Regions from separate parts of the Homo sapiens genome. Here region 1 is linked to region 2. The links are contacts of gene promoters, found by promoter capture Hi-C in human tissues and cell types (Jung and others, 2019). All regions are on one chromosome and are shown on one strand. The core of a region is centred on a gene start or on the middle of the fragment in contact, and the rest is flanking DNA. Distances in the headings are between cores, read along the strand shown. Region 1 overlaps LOC124904790. Region 2 holds the start of CCDC97 (coiled-coil domain containing 97).

What was found. The method cuts DNA at HindIII sites, captures the fragments that hold promoters and counts their contacts. A contact is called where the count stands out against the background at its distance.
Region 1: a contact is called between a fragment that was not itself captured here and the fragment with the promoter of CCDC97 in region 2, in 4 of the 25 tissues and cell types used here (IMR-90 fibroblasts, bladder, lymphoblastoid cells and 1 more).

The regions. Positions count from the first base shown.
Region 1 is chr19:41,168,706-41,174,305 of GRCh38, reverse strand. All of the region lies in intron 2 of LOC124904790, which reads left to right. It also overlaps the pseudogene RPL36P16. Among named protein-coding and RNA genes, the nearest start is that of CYP2S1, 22 kb to the left of the region's middle. The HindIII fragment of the contact is 4,900 bases long and covers 1-3,820 here.
Region 2 is chr19:41,307,568-41,313,419 of GRCh38, reverse strand. CCDC97 (coiled-coil domain containing 97) reads right to left here and starts at 3,248. Exons shown (of 5, transcript NM_052848.3): 1 at 3,064-3,248. The coding sequence starts at 3,109. It overlaps LOC105372401 (a long non-coding RNA gene), which reads left to right and starts at 3,371. Exons shown (of 2, transcript XR_935968.4): 1 at 3,371-3,482; 2 at 3,595-5,852. It overlaps HNRNPUL1 (heterogeneous nuclear ribonucleoprotein U like 1), which reads right to left. Exons shown (of 15, transcript NM_007040.6): 15 at 5,633-5,852. RefSeq lists enhancers at 2,913-3,202, 4,476-4,655. The HindIII fragment of the contact is 30,341 bases long and covers 1-5,852 here.

The DNA.
Region 1 (5,600 bases), core at 121-2,620, 140 kb after region 2:
TTACATAAGTAATAGATGATTATGGGTTGATTACAAATTTCAGCCGGGTACGGTGGCTCAGGCCTTTCGGAGGCCAAGGTGGGAGGATCGCTGGAGCTCAGGAGTTCGAGACCAGCCTGGGCAACATAGCAAGGCCCCCATCTCTAGAAAAAATTTAAAAAATTTAAAAATTAGCTGGGTGTGGTGGCAGACGCCTGAAGTTCCACCTACTTGGGAGGCTGAGGAGGGAGGATCGCTCAAGTTCGAGGCTGCAGTGAGCCATGATCGCGCCATGGCCCTCCAGCCTGGGCAAAAGAGCAGGACCTTGTCTCCAAAAAAGGAAAGAGAAAAATAAAATTTCAAAGACTACAGAAAAATAACTCCCTTTCTCCCTTCAACCCACTATTCCCTGGCTGCTGTCTATTTCAGTCCCACCCCCAGCTGTCCATCGCCGGCCACTCCTGCCATTACTATTGTTCTAAAGCTGCCAGAGTCAGCCTGGCCTGGTTCTATTCTTTTCTATCTTTCTAGAAGGTAAGACCCACTCTGGGTGGGTCAGGAGGTTAGTGTGTTACTTTTTTTTTTTTTTTTTTTTGAGACGGAGTCTCGCTCTGTCACCCAGGTTGGAGTGCAGTGGTGCGATTTTGGTTCAATGCAACCTCTGCTTCCTGGGTTCAAGTGATTCTTCAGCCTCAGCCTCCGGAGTAGCTGGGATTACAGGCATGTGCCACTATGCCCAGCTAATTTGTGTATTTATAGTGGAGATGGCGTTTCACCATGTTGGCCAGGCTGGTCTCGAACTCCTGACCTCAAATGATCTGCCTGCCTCGGCCTCCCAAAGTGCTGGGATTACATGCGTGAGCCACTGCGCCCGGCCTCTATGCGTTACTTTGGAGAAGTCACGTTCCTCTTTACACACCCATGTGTCCAAATGTGAAGTCCATTCCATCTCCATTTAGTTCCAGTTTTTATTTCAACATGCTGCAGCTTCCAGAATAAGGAGTAGCTGGAGAAGATCCAGAGTGTGGCATGCAGAAAGCCCCTCCACCAGTGCCAGGCACTGAGGCCCCAGGGAACTCCTGACCTCCGCTCCTTTATGCAGAGTTGATGCCAGGCCTGCATCCAGGCCTGACTGGGTGATGCTGGGGAGGCAGTAGAGACAGAGACAGCCCTACCCCCATGGGGCCCACAGTCCAGTTGAGGAGGCAGGTTAGTCACCAGACCTTGACTGCCCAGAGTGGTCGGGGCTGGGATGGGGGAGGCCAGGGGGCCTGTGGGAGCCCAGAGTAAGTGCCTGCCCTGGCCGGAGAGTGGTGAGTATCAGGGAGGGCTTCCTGGAGGAGGGGATACATGGATCTGAAGAATGACTCGAGAAAGATCATGGGGAAGAGTGTTCCTGCAGGGGGAATAGCATGTTGGGTGGCTGAGAGGGTAGCAGGAGGGATTGGAGGAGACCAGGGTTTTTGATGATGATTTCAGCACAGAGTGCTGGGGCTGTGGGGGAGGTGGGGGAACTGATTTCTCACCTCAGGGAGGGGCAGGACTTTGGAGGAGAGAGGAGAGCAAACATTCCAGGTGGGGAAACACCTGTTACAAGCCATAAGAGGGAGTGTATGGCGCTGGAGGCCCAGCAAGGCCAGTGTGGTTTAGCACAGATCCTTGCTGTGGACACAGAGTTGGGAGTCCTTGGCAGACAGACAGCAGATTCTGCAGCTCTGTGAGTGACCAGGCTCACCTGGGAGAGAGGGTGAGAAGAGGACCTGGTTTCTAGCATGTGGAGGTGGGGTGGGGGAGAAGGCAGAGCAAGGGAGACTGAGGGTGGGGACCCAGGAGGTGGAACACCGCCACCACCAGGAAGCTGGAGGAGGGGCTCTCAGCCAACTCCCCACCAGAATTTGTATTGTATAATTCTAAAAACGATGTCTGGTTAACATTTATTTTTATGTTCAAATGTATCTTTTTAGAATATTGTGCCAGTCTTGAAGATCACTGGAGATACTTCTACCTTCACCTACAATTTTCTTTCTTTCTTTTTTTTTTTTTTTGAGACAAGGTCTCACTCTCTTGCCCAGGCTGGAGTGCAGTGGCACGATCTCAGCTCCCTGCAACCTCAACCTCCCAAGCTCCAGTGATCCTCTCACTTTAGCCTCCCAAGTAGCTGGGACTACAGGCGCATGCCACCAGACTGGGCTAATTTTTGTATTTTTTGTAGAGACGGGGTTTCACCATGTTGACCAGGCTGGTCTGGAACTCCTGGACACAAGTGATCCGCCCGCCTTGGCCTCCCAAAGTGCTGGGATTAAAGGCGTGGGCCTCCGTGCCCGGCCCTGTTTTACTCTTTTCCTGGTGCCTTTTTTTTTTTTTTTGAATTGGAGTTTCGCTCTTGTTGCCCAGGCTGGAGTGCAATGGCGCGATCTCGGCTCACCGCAACCTCTGGCTCCCAGGTTAAAGGGATTCTCCTGCTTCAGCCTCTGAGTAGCTGGGATTACAGGCATGTGACACCACACCCAGCCAATTTTGTATTTTTAATAGAGATGGGGTTTCTCCATGTTGGTCAGGCTGGTCTCAAACTCCCCATCTCAGGGATCTGCCAAACTCCCCATCTCAGGGATCTGCCGCCTTAGCCTCTCAAAGTTCTGGGATTACAGGCGTGAGCCACTGCGCCCAGCCCTTCCTGGTGTCTTTGATGAACTACATTTGAATGTAGTCCAATTTATCAATCTTTTCAGTAATGTTTGTGCTTTTTTGTGTCATTTTTAAGAACACTTTTTCTCTCTTGGGGGCATAAAGATACCCTTCTAGATTATCTGTTAAAGCTTTTATTGTTTAGCTTTTCACATTGAGATATATGATCCATCTGGAATTAATATTTGATGTGATGTCAGGTAGGTTTCGAATTTCCTTTTTCCCCGTAAAGGTATTCAATGTCTCAGTCTCATTATGGAAAAGACCACCCTTTCCTCATGGTTCTGTAATACCATCCTTGGCATCAACCAGAAGTGGGTTCTTATTTTGGGCTGACTAATCTCTTCCATTGGTCTCTGTTCATGTTTGGGTAATTCTACACTGTCCTAATTACCATAGCTCCCTAGTAAGTTTGATATCAGGTAGAGTAAGTCCTCTTATTTAGTTTTTGTTTTTTCGGAGTCTTGCTCTGTCACCCAGGCTGGAGTGCAGTGGCGTGATTTCGGCTCAGTGCAACCTCTGCTTCCTGGGTTCAAGCGATTCTCATGCCCTAGCCTCCCAGGTAGCTTGCATTACAGGCACCTGCCAGCATGCCTGGATAATTTTTGTATTTTTAGTAGAGATGGGGTTTCACCATGTTGGCTAAGCTGGTCTTGAACTCCTGACCCCAAGTGATCCACCCACCTTGGCCTCCTCAAGTGCTGGGATTACAGGCATGAGCCACTGTGCCTGGCTGCTATTTTATGTATGATTTTTACATCCAAGTTTGGTAGTGAGACTGGCCTGTAATTTTCGTTTCTTATATTGTCTTAGGCAGGTTTTGGCAATTAAGTTTCTGCCTGCCTTATAAAACTGTGCTTTTTCTATACCATAAAAGAGTTTATGTGAGATTGGCATTATTTCTTCCTTAGATATTTGGTAAATTTCACTAGTGGGTTATCATAAACATTGGAGGGAAGATACTTAATTTTAGACTTGATTTCTTTAATCATTTTAGCATTATTCATATTTATTGTTTCTCCTTGTGTCCATTTTGGCAAGTTGTATTTATTTTTCTTTCTTTTTTTTGAGGTGGAGTCTCGCTCTGTTGCCCAGGCTGGAGTGCAGTGGTGCAATCTCGGCTCACTGCAATGTCTACCTCCTGGGTTCAAGCGATTCTCCTGTCTCAGCCTTCCAAGTAGCTGGGATTACAGGCGCCTGCCAACACGCCCGGCTAATTTTTTGTATTTTTAGTAGAGATGGGGTTTTGCCGTGTTGGCCAGGTTGGTCTTGAACTCCTGACCTTAGGTGATCCGCCCACCTCGGCCTCCCAAAGTGCAGGGATTACAGGAGTGAGCCACCGCACCTGGCCTATTTTTCTAAGGAATGTGTTCACTAATCTTCAAACTTTTGACATAAAATTGTTGCTGGTTTTTTTTTCTTTTTTCTTCCTGTCAAGCTGTTCTTTATTTCAGGGAGAGGGCAGGGGAGGGGGCTCAGTCTTTCTAGGCAGCAGCTTTCCTCATGGTGGCCAGCACCTTGCTCAGCTCCTTCCGCTTCCTCTTGGTGCGGATGTGCGTCCCCATCCTTTTCTTGATGAACTTGAGGGACCGTTTGTCCTTGGGGACCTTCAGCAACTCCATGGCGAGCCGCTTGTACGAGACGAAGCTACACACCTCCCGGATCATGTCCCGCACAAACCTGGTGTGTTTGGTCAGACGTCCGGGGCGGCAGCTGTGCCTGGGCTTGCTCACGTCCTTGGTCACCTTGGGGCCCACGGCCACAGGGTCGCGCAGAGCCATGGCTGCTGCTCTCCAATGGCAGCCGTGGCGGAAGCGCTGGTATTCTTTAAGTTTATTTTTATTGAAAAATTTTCGGCCGGTCGCGGTGGCTCATGCCTGTAATCCCAGCACCTTGGGAGGCCGAGGCGGGCGGATGGAGACCATCCTGGCTAACACGGTGAAACCCGTCTCTAAAAATGCAAAAAAAATTAGCCGGGCGTGGTGGCGGCCGGCGCCTGTAGTCCCAGCTACTCGGGAGGCTGAGGCAGGAGAATGGCGTGAACCCCGAGAGGTGGAGCTTGCAGTGAGCCGAGATCGCGCCACCGCACTCCAGCCTGGGCGACAGAGCGAGACTCCGTCTCAAAAAAAAAAAAAAGAAAAAAAGAAAAACTTTCATTGTCTACCCCCCTGGTGATGCAAGCTTGGAGAAAATGTGTTCACATAATTAAATAGATGGGAATCCAAAGAATATCAGTATAGCAATGTCCCTTAATTCTTTTAACTCCTTCTAAGCTATATGCCAAAAATCAATGGTCACCTATCTTCAAAATATAGTTGAATGACTCCTCAGCTGGCAATTGCTCTAGGTCCTCTTCTAGTTTTGTTGACTGCAAAGTATTGAAAACAAAACATTGAAAAGCAAAGACTTGAAGGCGGATTTATTACCCAGTCAATTGAATTCCTCCTAACACCACTATTAATGTTCTAGATGTCTCTATTTGGTCACCAGAGGATTTCAGCACTGAGAGCATGTACTGAAAATGGAAGAGAGGTAGGATTTTTTTTTTTAAGTGGGAACAAACAAATGAACAAAAAAGTGAGTAAAAAGTGGGGCCAGGCATGGTGGCTCACTCCAGTAACCCCAGCATTTTGGGAGGCTGAGGCAGGAGAATCACTTGGGCCCAGGAGTTCAAGACCAGCCTGGGCAACATAGTGAGACACTGTCTTTACAAAAAAAAAAAAAAATTAGCCAGGTGTGGTGGCACGTACCTGTGATTCCAGCTACTCAAGAGGCTGAGGTGGGAGGATTGCTTGAGCTTGGGAAGTTGAGGCTTCAGTGAGCCAAGATTGAGCCACTGCATTCCAGCCTGGGCAACAGAGCAAGACCCTTTCTGGCAAAAAAAAAAAAAAAAAGAAAAAGAGAAAGTCTGGGCACAGTGGCTCACGCCTGTAATC
Region 2 (5,852 bases), core at 1,999-4,498:
AGGCTGAGTGGAGGAGCCACAGGGCTGACGTGCTGGAAGTAAGGGAGGCATCCAGGGGAATGGTCCGACTGCTGCTACACGGGCCTCCAGACTCCTCAGGAGAGAAATGTTGGGCTGGAGACAGAGCTGTGGGTGTCATCAGAATCAAGACAAGAACCAAAGCCAAGAGAAATGAGAGGTAGGGACTGGGGAGGGCACAGGGGAGTGGGAGAGGGATGACAAGAGGGTCCAGGAAAAAGCACTGCACAGATGCGGGGAGGACATGCCTCTGAAGCTAAAAACTGGCTGTGCAAAAGATAGCTACATCGTAATCCCTGGAGCCCATTACTGTTATCTTAAAAAAAAAGAGGCCGGTTGCAATGGCTCACCCCTGTAATCCCAGCACTTTGGGAGGCCAAGGTGAGAGAATCACTTCAGGTCAGGAGCTCAAGACCAGCTTGGCCAACATGGCGCTCTACCAAAAATACAAAAAATTAGCCAGGTGTGGTGGCGCACTCCTGTAGTCCCAGGTACTCAGGAGGCTGAGGTAGGAGAATTGTTTGAACTCCGGAGGCAGAGGTTGCAGTGAACCGAGATCACGTACTCCAGCCTGGTCAACAGAGCGAGACTCCGTCTTAAAAAAAAAGAAGGCAACGTCAAAAGGGGAAGCAGAGATTGGAGTGATGTAGCCACATGCCAAGGAATTCCAGAAACCACCACTGGCTGGAAGAGGCAAGAAATGGGTTTTCTCCCAGAGCCTGTGGGGAAGCACGACCCTGCAGACACCTGGATTTCAGTTCAGCAACACTGACTTCAGCCTTCTGGCCTTGAGAACTATGAGAGAATAAAGTTCTGTTGTTTGAAGCCATGCAGTTTGTAGTACTTTGTTACAGCACCCCTGGGAAACAAAGTCAGGCTGAGAAGGAGCAGCCTGAGAGACAGGCAGGAAATCAGGCACTGTGGTGTCGCTGAAGCCAAAGGAAAACATGCAAAAAGGATGGAAGGATCAACAGCATTTAATTCTAGTCCAGTCTAGTAAGAAAAAAAACCTGAATGGGCCAAGTGTGGTGGCTCACACCTGTAATCCCAGCACTATGGGAGGCTGAGGCAGGAGGATCTCTTGAGGTCAGAAGTTCGAGGCCAGCCTGGCCAACATGGTGAAACCCCATCTCTACTAAAAATATACAAAATTAGACAGGCATAGTGGCGGGCACCTGTGATCCCAGCTACTTGGGAGGCTGAGGCACGGGAATCACTTGAACCTGGGAGGTGGAGGTTGCAGTGAGCTGAGATCATGCCACTGCACTCCAGCCTGGGCAACAGAGTGAGACTCTCTCAAAAAACAAACAAACAAACAAAAACCTGAATGGGGGGACTGAATTGAACAACATGGGGGAAGTCAGTGCAGACCCTAATCAGAGCAGTTTCTTAGGAGAAAAGTCAGACAGTCGTGAGCAGGAGACGAGGAAATGAAGACCAAGTATACATGACTCTCTGAAGGAGACAGATGGGGCCAAGAGACAAATTTTTTTTCTTTTTTTTGAAACAGGGTCTTGCTCTGTTGCTCAGACTGCAATGCAATAGTGCAAACACAGCTCACTGCAGCTTTGACCTCCTGGGCTCAAGTGATCCTCCCGCCTCAGACTCCTGAGTAGCCGGGACCACAGGAATGCACCATCAAACCTGGCTAATTTTTTTTTTTTTGAGACAGAGTTTTGCTCTGTTACCCAGACTGGAGTACAGTGGTGCGATCTCTGCTCACTGCAACCTCCGCCTCCCGGGTTCAAGTGATTCCAGTTGGTGCCTCAGCCTCCCGAGTAGCTGGGATTACAGGCACATACCACGACGCCTGGCTAATATTTGTATTTTTAGTAGAGATGGGGTTTCGCTATGTTGGCTAGGCTGGTCTCCAACTCCTGACCTGAGGTGATCTTCCTGCCTCCGCCTTCCAAAGTGCTGCGATTACAGGTGTAAGCCACCGGGCCCGGCCTTAATTTTTAAATTTTTTGTAGAGATGGGGTCTGGCTATGTTGCCAGTGCTGGTCTCAAACTCCTGGGCTCAAGTCTCACTCTGCTGCAGAGGCTGGAGTGCAGTGGTGTAATAATCTTAGGTCACTGCAATCTCAAAGGATTCGAGTGACACTCCCACCTTAGTCTCCTGAGTAGCTTGTCCTAGCTACTCCCTAGCCACCAGGCCTGGCTAATTTTTAAATGTTTATAGAGATCAGGTTTCTCTCTCTTGCCCAGGCTGGTCTCAAACTCTTGGGCTCAAGCAACTCTCCTGCCTTGGCCTCCCAAAGTGTTGGGATTACAAGCGGGAGCCACTGCACCCGGCCTTAAGACTTTTTTTAGGTTAAATTTTTTATTTTTAGAAAATTTCAAACATACACAAAAGTAGAAAGTACAACGACAATTCTCCCCCTACCTCCATATACCAATCATCTCCATCTGGCTTCCACAATTACCAATTCTTGGCCAGTGGTGTTGGAGCCACGCTTCCAATCACACCTCACCCGACGTCGGATTACTTTGAAGGTTGTGGGAAAGCACAGAAATTGAGTAAGGACTTTGAAAGGAGCCTGGCTGGATTTCGGACTTTGGGGGAAACGGGAGTTACAATGAAATGAAGGAATCGTTAGATTGGGATAAGTTTGCATGAGGCAGGTAGAAGTTTAGCCTGGAAAGGTAGGAGGATTCGTCTAGAGAGCAAGGGAAGGCTCAGCTTGGTACAGGGAAGGAGGTAATTTGAGAAGGGCTGGTCTGAGGCAATGCAGGAATTAGGCCGGGGTAGAGAGGTTTCTGTTAATTTGAGAGTTAGCCTGGTAAGGAAATGAATTAGGGACATGGAAAGGATTGGTCTGGAACTGGGAAGAGGTTAATTTCGGGGGGAAGGAATGGAGGAAAAGAAGGTCAGCCCGCGACAAGGGAGGGAATAATCTGGGCAAAGTAGTGAAGAGGACCGGTAAAGCTGAGGGGGGTGGGTGTCCCCCTAAAACGAGTCCTACTTCGCGTTCCTGGGGGAATCATTTCCTAGAGACACCGCAACCGCACCCACCCGCCGCCTGCGCGTGACCAAGATCTCACCCTTATCGGGTTCCTTCGCCGCCGTCGCCGTCGCCACGGCCTCCATCCTGATTCTCTCGGACTTTTCAACCGCCCGGCGGGCCCCGCACACTAACCTCCGGCCCACGCACGCAAGAGACACTTTCGCCTGAGAATGTTCCGGGTCCGGGTGCACCGCTGCGCCCAGGCACCGAAGTTCCGGGCCTAAGGCAGACGTTGCATTGCGCATGCGTGCCTCTCTCGGGCTCCGCCCTCCGCAGCCAGGAAGGAAAGGGGCTCCCCGGAGAGTGAGAGACCCTTAAACCTCTCCTGTCAGTCAGTAGGAACCAGAATCATTGTTCGTTTTATCACTGCTGTGACTCCAGCTCCCAGCGTGCTTAATTTTGGGATGGATGGCTAAAGGACTTTCCCCCGGAGCCTGGAGCCGTCATACGCTGAGGGTTCGTGCTCTCGTTTAGACCCCCGCTTGTCCTTTTCCTTTCTTAACTCCTTCAGGAATTCAGGAATATTACTAAGCCTTGACTCTTTTTTTTTTTTTTTTTTTTGAGACAGGGTCTCGCTTTGTCGCCTAGACGAATGCAGTGGCGCGATCACAGTTCAAGTAACCTCACATTCCTGTGCTCAAGTGATCCTCCTGCCTCAGCCTTTGGAGTACTTGGGACTACAGGCGCGCACAACCGCGCCCGGCTAATTTTTAAAATTTTTTTGTAGAGCCAGGGGTCCCACTTTGTTGCCCAGGCTAGTCCCCAACTCCTGGCCTCAAGCAATCCTCCCGCTTCAGCCTCTCAAAATGCTGGGATTACGCGCGTGAGCCACCAGCCTGGCTTACTTCCGTCATCATACCCTGTCTCTGGCTGGCATGAGATGGATAGTGAGATAGAACTTCCCATTTTGTGTTCCCAGGACCTGGAGGAAATCTACAGGTGTGAAACAAGACAACTCTGGTCCTTATTTCCCTATGGGATGGGTGGGGCTCTATTTAGGTGTTACCAGCAGAGTAGACAGACATGTCACTCAGTGGCCAGGGCTTTGATGGATCCAGAGGGCTGAGGGAGCTGTCCACCCCAGGCTGGAGGGTCAAGGAAGCCTTCTTTCTGGGAGGGTACCCTCAAGCTAAGACCTGAAGAACGAGTAGGAGCTGGGTTAAGAGGAAGGTAGGGAAGAGTCTTGAGGAGGATGGCACGTACGGACGGTTCTGGTTGCTGCAAGCACTTCACTACGGTCAGGGCATAGGAAAGGAGCTCTAACTTGAAAGCCATGATTGGGCTGTGGAGGTTTTGAGAACCTCATGAATTTTTATGCAAAATTCCATGTACCTCTGTATTCTCCAATGCAGTGGTTCATGGCATCATTTGTGGGTTCCAAAAAGGACTTATGGCTCCTCAGAACAAAATAAACACTGATTTGATATTCAAAGGGGGAGCAGAAAGAGAGGGCGCCAGCGATGTTACCAGGTGCTAGGCCATGCAGGGCCTCATAAGCCATAGTAAGTGGCTTGACCTCCTTTATTCTGAAGGGAGTGGGCATCAAGGGACTGGAGATGAGACGTGTGAGAAAAACTGGCTGAGAACAGAGGAAGAGCTTCCCCATTTGCATTCCCTTGAGGTCTGGAGTTGTGGAAGAAAGCCAAGGAGGTCCCTATTTACCAACCCAGATTCCTAGGCATTACCAGGAGAGGCCAGCAGAGGGCGCTGTAGCCCAGCATATGGACATGAAGGGAAGGGGACTTTCCAGACTAAAGGCCCTGCCACCTCCTCTCTGGCGCATTCTAGGGTCCCTTTTAGCCACCAACCTTGGTTCCTTCTCACGTTCTGATGCCCTACCCGAGATTCTGAGACTAGTCAGTTTCCCTCCCTTGTTTTTGTTGCCCATCTCCCCTTCACAAGGCTCTGAGCTCCCACCAGGGAAGATTGGGGCTGAATTGGCTTCTCCTGTGGCCCAGCATTGTCTCTCACAAGGAGCCAGGAACACAGCATGTATGAGGGAACGAAGACATAAGGTTGCTAAGGAAGGGGAAGATGGGCCATGGGGATGCAATCTGGAGTCTTTTACCCTGGCTCACTCCTCCAGGAAGCCCTCCCTGCACACCACCCCAGGCTCTCACAGCTGACCACTTGGTGCTGGCAGGTCTTTGTTCTCTCTGGAGTGGGAGCTCTGTGAGAACGGGGTCCAGGACTGCCGTGGCCATACTATGTCCCCAGCACTGTCCAGGACAGCTGAAGAACACAGCAGGTGGCTCACACACACTGGCTGAAACATGAAGCTCCTGGAATCCCCATGAGCCCCAAACACAGAACAGGCAGGAACTGTCCTCCGTGCTGCACACAGGCCAGGCCTGAGGCAGGTGGTCTGTGGATGCCCAGTGATGATGCCAAACAAACCAGCCCTGGTCTCTGCCCCATCAGTCCCACCCATCCCTCCACCTAGAGGCCTGTTCCATGTCCTTTACTCAAAAACTCCTGGAGGGATTTTAGACTGTGAGAGGTAGAGAACAAGAGAAGCACTTTAAAAATGAACTAGTGGATTTTAAACCAGGGACCCTTGTTTAAGCGTGCATTTTTAGCACCAAAATCGGGGCCAGGCACATGAATCCCTCAGTTAAGTTGTTTAATGAATGAGTAAATAATTTCCCTTTAAAGAGGCCCCCACCCCAATTAACGGCCAACTGCAGTAACACTTCAGGGTTTCAACCCTGCTTCCTTCCTGCTAGGAGGTGCCATGTCATTTATTCAAAGAAAACAAAACGAAACCAAACAAAACAGGGCAAACACATTTCTTAATAAGTGCAGTTTGTTAAAATCATGTTAAAA